Linked DNA regions of Homo sapiens: region 1 is linked to region 2. Evidence: promoter capture Hi-C in human tissues and cell types (Jung and others, 2019). All regions are on one chromosome and are shown on one strand. The core of a region is centred on a gene start or on the middle of the fragment in contact, and the rest is flanking DNA. Distances in the headings are between cores, read along the strand shown.

What was found. The method cuts DNA at HindIII sites, captures the fragments that hold promoters and counts their contacts. A contact is called where the count stands out against the background at its distance.
Region 1: a contact is called between a fragment that was not itself captured here and the fragment with the promoter of NCR1 in region 2, in 2 of the 25 tissues and cell types used here (mesenchymal stem cells and pancreas).

The regions. Positions count from the first base shown.
Region 1 is chr19:54,983,791-54,988,344 of GRCh38, reverse strand. NLRP2 (NLR family pyrin domain containing 2) reads right to left here. Exons shown (of 13, transcript NM_017852.5): 7 at 3,128-3,298; 8 at 2,030-2,194. Among named protein-coding and RNA genes, the nearest start is that of NLRP2, 20 kb to the right of the region's middle. The HindIII fragment of the contact is 9,446 bases long and covers 1-4,554 here.
Region 2 is chr19:54,904,696-54,910,629 of GRCh38, reverse strand. NCR1 (natural cytotoxicity triggering receptor 1) reads right to left here and starts at 4,482. Exons shown (of 7, transcript NM_004829.7): 1 at 4,409-4,482; 2 at 4,296-4,331; 3 at 3,823-4,107; 4 at 1,107-1,385; 5 at 565-612. The coding sequence starts at 4,442. The HindIII fragment of the contact is 21,719 bases long and covers 1-5,934 here.

The DNA.
Region 1 (4,554 bases), core at 1,475-3,974, 79 kb before region 2:
CTCCAGCCTAGGAGACAGAGCAAGACTATATCTTGAGAAAAAAAGAAAGAAATTAGTGACCCAAATCTTTAATTCACCCAATATTCCCCCTCACCCTGCATCCCATTATTCTCAGGCAAAAAGAAAAGAGGGTAATTGCAACGGTTAGTAATGATAGCAGCCACTATTGAATGCATGGGCTTGGTTTCATTCAACCTTCCAATACCTGTAAGATGTACAGCATCCTATTCAACTAAGATCCCATTAAGCAGCCTAAGATTGTATCAGTAGAGCCAGAGCAATCAATTTTTTTTCTGTCCTCGAGATGGAGTTTTGCTCTGTTGCCCAGGCTGGAGTGCAATGGCGTGATCTTGGCTCACTGCTACCTCTGCCTCCTAGGTTCAAGCAATTCTCTTGCATCAGCCTCCATGAGTAGCTGGGATTACAGGCACGCGCCACCATGCCCAGCTAATGTTTTTGTATTTTTAGTAGACGTGGGGTTTCACCATGTTGGCCAGGCTGGTCTTGAACTCCTGACCTTGTGATCCACCTGCCTTGGCCTCCCAAAGTGCTGGGATTACAGGCATGAGCTACCGCACCCAGCCAAGATTTTTTTTTTTTTTTTTGAGACAGTCTCACACTGTTGCCCAGACTGGAGTGCGGTGGTGTGATCTCAGCTCACTGCAACCTCCGCCTCTCAGGTTCAAATGATGCTCCTGCCTCAGCCTCCTGAGTAGCTGGGACTACAGGCGTGCGCCAACATGCCCAGCTAATTTTTGTATTATTAGTAGAGACAGAGTTTCACCATGTTGACCAGGCCGGTCTTGAACTCCTGACCTCAAGTGATCCACCCACCTCGGCCTCCCAGGCGTGAGCCACTGCGCCTGGCCCAGGGCAATAATTTGAGGCCAATGACCACCTACTACACCAGTGTGGCCAAGTGAGGCTTCATGGAACCCCATGATGCATGTAGGTTCTCATCGCCTGGGCAGCCACTGGACAGCTTCCCAAGGGGAGAGCTCTCAAACCAGAGGACTAACAGAAAAGGGGCAACTTGATGTTCCTGAAGGGTTCTTGCTTGAAAAATGTCAATAGCTGGTATTCTGAATCATCATACAGGAGAAGCATGAACCATGAGTGAATGATCTCTGATAGAAGATAAAGATTCTGGGCTGGGCACGGTGGCTCATGCCTCACTTTGGGAGGCCGACGGCGGGGTGGGGTGGGGGTGGGGGGGTAGATCACCTGAGGTCATGAGTTCGAGACCAGCCTGGCCAATGTGGTAAAACTCCATCTCTACTAATAATACAAAAATTAACCAGGTGTGGTGGTGTGCACCTGTAATCCCAGCTACTCAGGAGGCTGAGGCAGGAGAATCACTTGAACCTGGGAGGTGGAGGCTGCAGTGACCTGAGATCATACCAACGCACTCCAGCCTGGGTGACAGAGCGAGACTCCATCTCAAAAAGAAAAAAGAAAAAGAAAAAACCAAAACCAAAACCAAAACATAAGGACTCTGGCTGGGCATGGTGGCTCATGCCTATAATCCCAGCACTTTGGGAGCCTGAGGAGGGCAGGTCACCTGAGGTCATGAGTTCGAGACCAGCCTGGCAATGTGGCGAAACCAGCTCCACTAAATGCACAAAAATTAGCCGGGCGTGGTGGCGGGTGCCTGTAATCCCAGCAACTTGGGAGGCTGAGGCAGCAGAATTACTTGAACCCAGGAGACAGAGGTTGCAGTGAGCCAAGATCGTGCCATTGCACTTTGGCCTGGGCAACAGAGCAAGACTTCATAAAAAAAAAAAAAAAGATGATAAAGATTCTGGGAGTTTCTTTGGATTCAGGGTCCTCACGTATGGTTGTCCAGGGTGTTTACTGTTCAAGGCAAGTAGAAACTCAAGTTCAGCCCATGCTGCATCCTGGGTCATCTGCCCTTAGTACTGTTTCTAGTCAGAATAACGAACTTTTTCTTATTTACACAAAATTGCCACATAAGCTTGTGGTAGCTTATGTTTGTATGATGAAGGATTTTAATGATTAAGAGATATACCCGAGATATCGCAGGTTACATTCTGGATGTCTCAAGACCTCACACAATGCGGGAAACATATCATCCTGGTCATTGCCTTGAAGGGTCAGATACGTTACAGTCTTGTGACCTCGAAGAGCTAGGCAGAGGTTCCGATGAGCATCAGCTGGGGAAATGTTTTTGAACCTAGGGAAAAGAGAACGAAAGTGAAATCTTTAGTGTGTACACCTGTATCGTACTTAAATGGAAACCAGGGGCTCGATATATTTAAACTTTAGGAACTATTTTTTCCATGTTTAAATTTTTGTCCATCTTTACAGATTTTTTTTTTCTTTGAGATGGAGTCTCACTCTGTTGCCCAGGCTGGAGTGCAGTGGCGCGATCTCGGCTCACTGCAAAGCAAACTCTGCCTCCCGGATTCAAGCGACTCCTACCCTCAGCATCCGGAGTAGCTGGGATTATAGGCACCTGCCACGACACCTGGCAAATTTTTGTATTTTTCGTAGAGACAGGGTCTTGCACCATCTTGGCCAGGCTGGTCTTGAACTCCTGACCTCAAGTGATCCCCCCACCTTGGGCCCCCAAAGTGCTGGGACTACAGGCGTGAGCCATTGTGCCCGGCCCTTTTTTTCTTTTTCTTTTTTTTTTTTTTTTTTTTTGAGACGCAGTCTCGCTCTGTCACTCAGACTGGAGTCCAGTGGCAGGATCTTGGTTCACTGCAACCTCCGCCTCCTGGGTTCAAGTAATTCTCCTGCCTCAGCCTCCCAAGTAGCTGATATTACAGGTGCCTGCCACCACGCCTGGATAATTTTTGTATTTTTAGTAGAGGCAGGGTTTTGTCACGTTGGCCAGGCTGGTCTCGAACTCCTGACCTCAAGTGATCTGTCTGCCTCGGCCTCCCGAAGTGTTGGAATTACAAGTGTGAACCACCATGCCCAGCCCCTAGAAATTACTTTATACGATTATCCCACAAAATAAATTTAAGGACAGGACTCTCTCAATTCCCTGTGTCTCGAGCACTTAAGAGTCTAGTACAGGAATCTGAATATTGCTCCGATGTTAACATTGTACCATTTTCATACCCTAAGGATTTGAGTTCATGAATTAGTTTCTACTTACACCACTCTCTGGAGATGACAGGTGTCAGAGGCTATTTGTTCACACAGGATCCTTACTAGGGAGGCACTGAGAAAGCTATCATTGATTGCTAGACCCATCAGATCCTTATTTGATCCAAATATGGAACAAAGGTCCGTCCAGAAAGGAAGCATGTGCTGATCATCCTGGGATCTATAGGGAAGAGAAGAAAGGGTTACACCAAATGTGTGTCCATCACGGCTGAAGTATTTAGGGTTTCTCTGGGCATATACCCCTGACAAATGAGTACAATTGAAAGCTGGACCATGTAATCACTTATTAGCACCACCATCAGACAACTCAACACCCAAGAAGCATCACAGGAGAAAGAACCTATTCTTCTTAGACAAAAATCCAATAGAGGGTAAAAATAAGTTAAAATGCTAAGCACATCATTGATAAAAGATAGAGAATATAGACCGGGCACGGTGACTCACGCCTATAATCCTAGCACTTTGTGAGGCTGAGGCGGGTGGATCACCTGAGGTCGGGAGTTCGAGACCTGCCTGGCCAACATGGTGAAACCCCGTCTCTACTAAAAGTACAAAAATTAGCTGGGCATGGTCGTGGGTGGCTGTAATCCCAGCTACTCATGAGGCTGAGGCAGGAGAATCATTGAACCTGGTGGGGCGGAGGTTGCAGTGAGCCGAGATCGAGCCACTTCACTCCGACCTGGGAAAAAGAGTGAAACTCCGTCTCAAAAAAAAAAAAAAAGATTGGGAATATACATATCTATACATATCAATAAGAAATATTCAGGCAGGGCGTGTGGTAACTCATGCCTGTAATCTCAGTGCTTTGGGAGTTCAAGACCAGCCTGGACAACATAGTGAGATTTTGTCTTTCCAAAAAAAAAAAAAAAAAAAAAAACACAAAAAAAAACCCCCACTTAAGTTAGCTGGACATGATGGTGCACACTTAATACCTGTCATCCCAGGTACTCAGGAACATCACTTGAACCCAGAAGTTTGAGGATGCAGTGAGCTGATTTCACCACTGTACTCCAGCCTGAGCAACACAGCAAGACCCTGTCTTAAAAAAATATATTTGGGCCGGGCATGGTGAATCATGCCTGTAATCCCACTTTGGAGGCTGAGGCAGGTGGATCACCTGAGGTCAGGCGGAGTTCAAGACCAGACTGGCCAACATGCTGAGATCCCGTCTCTAATGAAAATATAAAAATTAGCCGGGCAAGGTGGCAGGCGCCTGTAGTCCCAGCTACTCAGGAGGCTGAGGCAGAAGAATCACTTGAACCCGGGAGGCGGAGGTTGCAGGGAGCCAAGATCGCGCCACTGCGCTCCAGCCTGAGCGACAGAGCAAGACTCCATCTCAAAACAAAAACAAACAAAGAGTCCAACAAGAGGGAATTCCTGACCCTAAGCCACAGTGCATAGGAGGCTCTGGCCTCT
Region 2 (5,934 bases), core at 3,233-5,732:
TGTATACTATGCACTTGATGAATATATATATATAATAGTTTTGTTTTTGTTTTTCTGTGAGATGGAGTCTCGCTGTGTCGTGCAGTGGAGTGGAATGCAGTGGCGCGATCTCAGCTCACTGCAACCTCTGCATCCCAGGTTCAACAATTCTCCTGCCTCAGCCTCCTGAGTAGCTGGGATTACAGGCGAGCACCACCAGGCCCGGCTAATTTTTGTATTTTTAGTAGAGATGGGGTTTCACCATGTTGGTCAGGCTGGTCTCGAATTCCTGACCTTGTGATCCAACCACCTTGGCCTCCCGAAGTGTTGGGATTACAGGTGTGAGCCATGATGCCCAGCCTAAGTTTTGTATTTTTAGTAGAGACAGGGTTTCGCCATGTTGGCCAGGCTGGTCTCAAACTCCTGACCTCAAATGATGCACCATCTCGGCCTCCCAAAGTGCTGGGATTACAGGCGTGAGCCACCACGCCTGGCCTCGATGAATATTTTGAATGAATGCCACGTTTTTAGTGTCACTGGGAGGCTCTGATCGCTCGTCTGAGCTTAGAAGGACCAGTTACTCACCAGGAAAGGTGGGGTCTTCAGGTGCAAGGCTGGTGTTCTCAATGTCGCCTGGAAAAGGAGATAAAGAAAAAAAAGTAAGGGTTTTTGGTTTCCTCCGGTCTTGCCATTCTTTTTTTTTTTTTTTTTTTTTTGAGATGGAGTCTTGCTCTGTCGCCCAGGTTGCAGTGCGGTGGTATGATCTCGGTTCACTACAACCCCCGCCTCCCGGGTTCAAGCGATTCTCCTGCCTCAGCCTCCTGAGTAGCTGGGACTACAGGTGTCCGCCACTGCGTCTGGCTAATTTCTGTATTTTTAGTAGAGACGGGGTTTCACCGTCTTGGCCAGGCTGGTCTCGAACTCCTGACCTTGTGATCCACCCGCCTTACCATTCCTTTCTCTGTTCCCTCCTCCTTCCTGCTTCTGGTGTTCTTCCTCACATGACCAACCAGGCACCCAGGAAGTGGACGTCCCTTGGACACCCTCCCCATCACTCTCTGGGGATCCCTCAGGGCTCCAGGTAGCACATGGCGGCGAAGGGTGTGGGGAATTGAGCATTTCCTCACCTGTGACCAGGAGCTTCACTGGCTCACTGGGGAAAGACCAGGCATGGTTGTTATAGGAGCCAAAACATCGGTATGTCCCTCTGTGGGCTGTGGTCACAGGGCCCAGGGGGAACTCCGCCTGGACCTTCCCGTATCCGCGCTGTACGTGGCTGGATCTTCCCTCCTTGAGCAGTAAGAACATGCTTGTTGCAGTGTCTAGACGGCAGTAGAAGGTCACCTTCTCTCCCGAGATCACTTCGGGTCCAGGATGAACCGAGAGGGTGGGTGTGTCATACATTTCTATGAGAGAAGGTGGGGCCACCACACCAGAAACTCAGTGATGAGCAGCCAGCTATTTTTTTTTTTCTTTCTTTAGAGATGGAGTCTCTCTCTGTCGCCCAGGCTGGAGTGCAGTGACACGATCTTGGCTCACTGCAACCTCCGCCTCCCGGGTTCAAGCGTTTCTCCTGCCTCACCCTCCCAAGTAGCTGGGACTACAGGGGCCTGCCACCATGCCTGGCAGCCAGCTTTTTTTTTTTTTTTTAATTATTATTTTGGTCAAATACACACAATAGAAGATTTACCGTCTAAAACCATTTTTAAAAATGATACAGGGTCTTGCTCTGTTTCCCAGGCTGGAGCGCCGTGGCACTATCTTTGCTTACTGAAGCCTCGACCTCCTGGGTCAGGAGTTTGAGACCAGCCTGGTCAACATGGTGAAACCCCGTCTCTACTAAAAATGCAAAAATTAGCCGGGTGTGGTGGCACATGCCTGTAATCTCAACTACTTGGGAGGCTGAGGCAGGAGAATTGAGGCTGAGGCAGAGGTTGCAGTGAGCTGAGATTGTACCACTGCACTGCAGCGAGACTGTCTCAAAAAAAAAAAAAAAAGCCCCGGCCAGCCGCCCCGTCCGGGAGGTTGGGGGGCAGCCCCCGCCCGGCCACTGCCCCGTCTGGGAGGTGGGGGGGCGCCTCTGCCCGGCCGCCCCGTCTGGGAAGTGAGGAGCCCCTCTGCCCGGCCGCCACCCCGTCTGGGAGGTGTACCCAACAGCTCATTGAGAACGGGCCATGATGACGATGGCGGTTTTGTCGAATAGAAAAAGGGGAAATGTGGGGAAAAGAAAGAGAGATCAGATTGTTACTGTGTCTGTGTAGAAAGAAGTAGACATAGGAGACTCCATTTTGTTCTGTACTAAGACAAATTCTTCTGCTTTGGGATGCTGTTAATCTATGACCTTACCCCCAACCCCGTGCTCTCTGAAACATGTGCTGTGTCCACTCAGGGTTAAATGGATTAAGGGCGGTGCAAGATGTGCTTTGTTAAACAGATGCTTGAAGGCAGCATGCTCCTTAAGAGTCATCACCACTCCCTAATCTCAAGTACCCAGGGACACAAACACTGCGGAAGGCCGCAGGGACCTCTGCCTAGGAAAGCCAGAGACCTTTGTTCACATGTTTATCTGCTGACCTTCTCTCCACTATTGTCCTATGACCCTGCCAAATCCCCCTCTCCGAGAAACACCCAAGAATGATCAATAAATACTAAAAAAATTAAAAAAAAAAGAATAAATGAGTAGCTGTGTTCCCCTGCCAGAACCTCCAAACAAGGTCCAAAGACCCTGAGCAAATGAAAAGGCACAGACAAAAAATATATATATTTCAACACAAGTATATGACACAGAATATAGAAATAACTTTTCCTAATCAATCAAAATATAAGCAACCCAATTTAAAAATAGGCAAAAGATTTAAATAGACATTTCACAAAAGAAGATATTTGAATGGACATGAAATACTGTTGTGAGCTGCATAATGACATTTTGGCCAACAATGTACCACATATATGATGGTGGTCCCATAAGATTATAATGAAACTGAAAAATTCCTATTGCCTGATGACATCATAGCCTTCCTAGCACAAAGTATTGCTCATGTGTTTTTGGTGTTGCTGGTATAAACAAACCTAATTGTATAGCACATACAATTATGTATGTATATGTAACTATGTATAATACTTGATAATAATAATAAACAACCATATTGTTAAAAAAAAAAAAAAGCTAATTTTTTTTTTTTTTTAGAAAACCACCACCTGGCTGGGTGTGATGGCTCACACCTGTAATCCCAGCACTTTGGGAGGGTGAGGCGGGCGGATCATCTGAGGTCAGGAGTTCGACACCACCCTGGCCAACATGGTGAAACCCCATCTCTACTAAAAATACAAAATGTGGCGTAGTGGTGGGTGCCTGTGATCCCAGCTACTTGGGAAGCTGAGGCTGGAGAATCACTTGAACCCAGGAGGTGGAGGTTGCAGTGACTGGAGATTGCACCACTGCACTCCAGCCTGGGTGACAAGAGCGAAACTCCGTCTCAAAACAGATAAAAAAAAAAAAAACCCACCACCTGTGATGGGTGAGGGAAGCAAAGTGTAAGCCACTGCGCCTGGCCCACAGGCATTGTTTTTGAGGACATTCCTCAGTCATACCCCTGCATACAAATATCTATCTCAGAATCTGTGTCATGGAGAAACTGACTGAGGACACATCTGCTCCTAGGACGTAGAGACACGGTCTGCAGACAACCCCTTGTAGGCAAGGATTGTGATGGGGATCACCCCTCCTTCCAGCCTCCTACCGAGACAAGCAGTGTCTGAGTGGGGCTTGGAAGAGTTCATAGATGATGCTGCATCCCGGATGCAGACTGAGATCACTCTCCAGTTAGAGAACCGGACAGTTACCTGTTACCACCAGATCCAGCAAGTTGCTGGGCTCTGACCAGAGCTCCCCAACCCGATAGATGCAGCTGTATTGCCCTGCCATGCGGGAGTTCATGTCCGGGATGTAGAATTGGACTTTGTTAATCCGCTCAGGGGGTTTTGGTCTGTCCACGGCAAAAAGGCTTCCTTCAAAGTGCAGCTGGTATTCAACAGCCCCATAATTTCCCTGGCAACAGATGGTCACTTGCTTTTCCTTTGGAACCATGAAATGGGGCTCGGCCCAGATGAACGGTTTTGGGAGAGTCTCTGGAAGGGAATCAGAGGCTGGAGTTCCAGCGGAGCCCCCTCCCCCCAACCTTAGGCTCCACCCAGCTGCTGGCCCCAAGCTCTCCTGGGAAGCCAGCACCCTGTCCCCTCACCCCAGCCGTGCTTGGGTGGAAGGAGCTTGGCCTGAATCCGGAAGAGTGACCCTGGGCTTTGAAGGAAGGACTCACGCTGCTGGGCGCTGATCCTCTGACTCAGACACAGCCCTGGAAGACGGGAGTAATGAGACCTGTTGCCTCCCAGGCACACCGTGATCCCATTCCCCTTCCACGCCAGAACTCACCGACGCAGAGCAGGGCAGGGAGTGTGGAAGACATCGCTCAGATTCTGCCGGCCTAGTGCTGAGCAGTGGGGACTGAGCCGGGCGGGCCAGGGAGATAGATACACAGGAAGTGGTGGGTGAGCACCAGCGCCCATCACCAGAGCGCTTTCACGTTGACTGCTTTCATCAGAACGTTCACAACTCCCCTCCGCCTCTGACCATGAGCTTACAGAAAGGCCGTGGTCCCTCTGACACATCTGTGGTCTAGCCAGCAACTCTGACAATTGTCTGCTCAGCCCAAAATGCATTTCTGGGTCAACTTCTCAATTCTGCAATGTGGAGGTCGTACCCAGAGCTGACTGTGGGAAGTTGTGCCCAATCATGCCCAGAGGAAACCCCCTGAGAATCGTATAAAAACATAGGGAGTTTCACAGTGAGATACTGGAACAGGAATTAAAAGAAATTACAGAATGTGTAAACAAAAACTCAGTTGTATTTAAGAAAACCCAGTTCCCCCCGAGGAAGAGAAAGAGGTGGAGTCCTTTAAACATGAACTGCCTGTTTTTCTGTCTGTGGCTAGTGAGCCTTATCTCTCCCTTTCCCAGGCATTGTGAAGACCCTGTTTCTCTTGCCGTGCGGCTGCAAGGTCACTAGACAGGATAACCTCAAGTCGTAAAACATATTTTTCTTGAAAAGTAAGGAATAATGTGATGCATGTCTCAATTGAATAACTGCCTTTGTTTCTTGCTTCTGTAATATGCTTCCCCCTGCACAGATCTCCCCCAACCCCACAAAATGCTTAAAAGGTAACCGGACTCTCTGTTCGAGCCTCAGTCTTTTTGGATGTTAATCTGACTGGGGCCGGTGCACCTAAATAATAATAATAATAATAAATCCTCCTCAACCCCTCGGTCTCTCTGATTCCTAAATTATCCCTCAACAATACCATCTCACACCAGTCAGAATGGCCATTACTGAAAAGCCAGAAATTAACAGATGCTGGTGAGATTGTGGAGCAAAGGGGACACTTATACACTGTTGGTGGGTGTAAATTAGTTCAGCCACTGTGGAAAGCAGTTTGGTTTGGAGATATTTCAGAGAACTACAAACAGAGTTACCATTCAGCCCAGCAATCCCATCGCTGGGTATATAGCCAAAGGAAAATAAATCATTCTACCAAAAAGACACATGCACTTGTATGTTCATTGCAGCAGGATTCACAATAGTGAAGACATGGAATCCACCCAGGTCCCATCAGAGGTGGACTGGATAAAGACAATGTGATATGTATACACCACAGAACGCTATACAGCCTTGAAAAATCACAAGATTATGTCCTTTGCAGCAACATGGATGCAGCTAGAGGCCATTATCCTAAGCGAGTTAACACAGAAACAGAAAACCAAATACTGGCCAGACACGGTGGCTCAGGCCTGTCATCCCAGCACTTTGGGAGGCTGAGGCAGGTGGATCACCTTAGGTCGGGAGTTCGAGACCAGCCTGACCAACATGCAGAAACCCTGTCTCTACTAAAAATTCAAAATTAG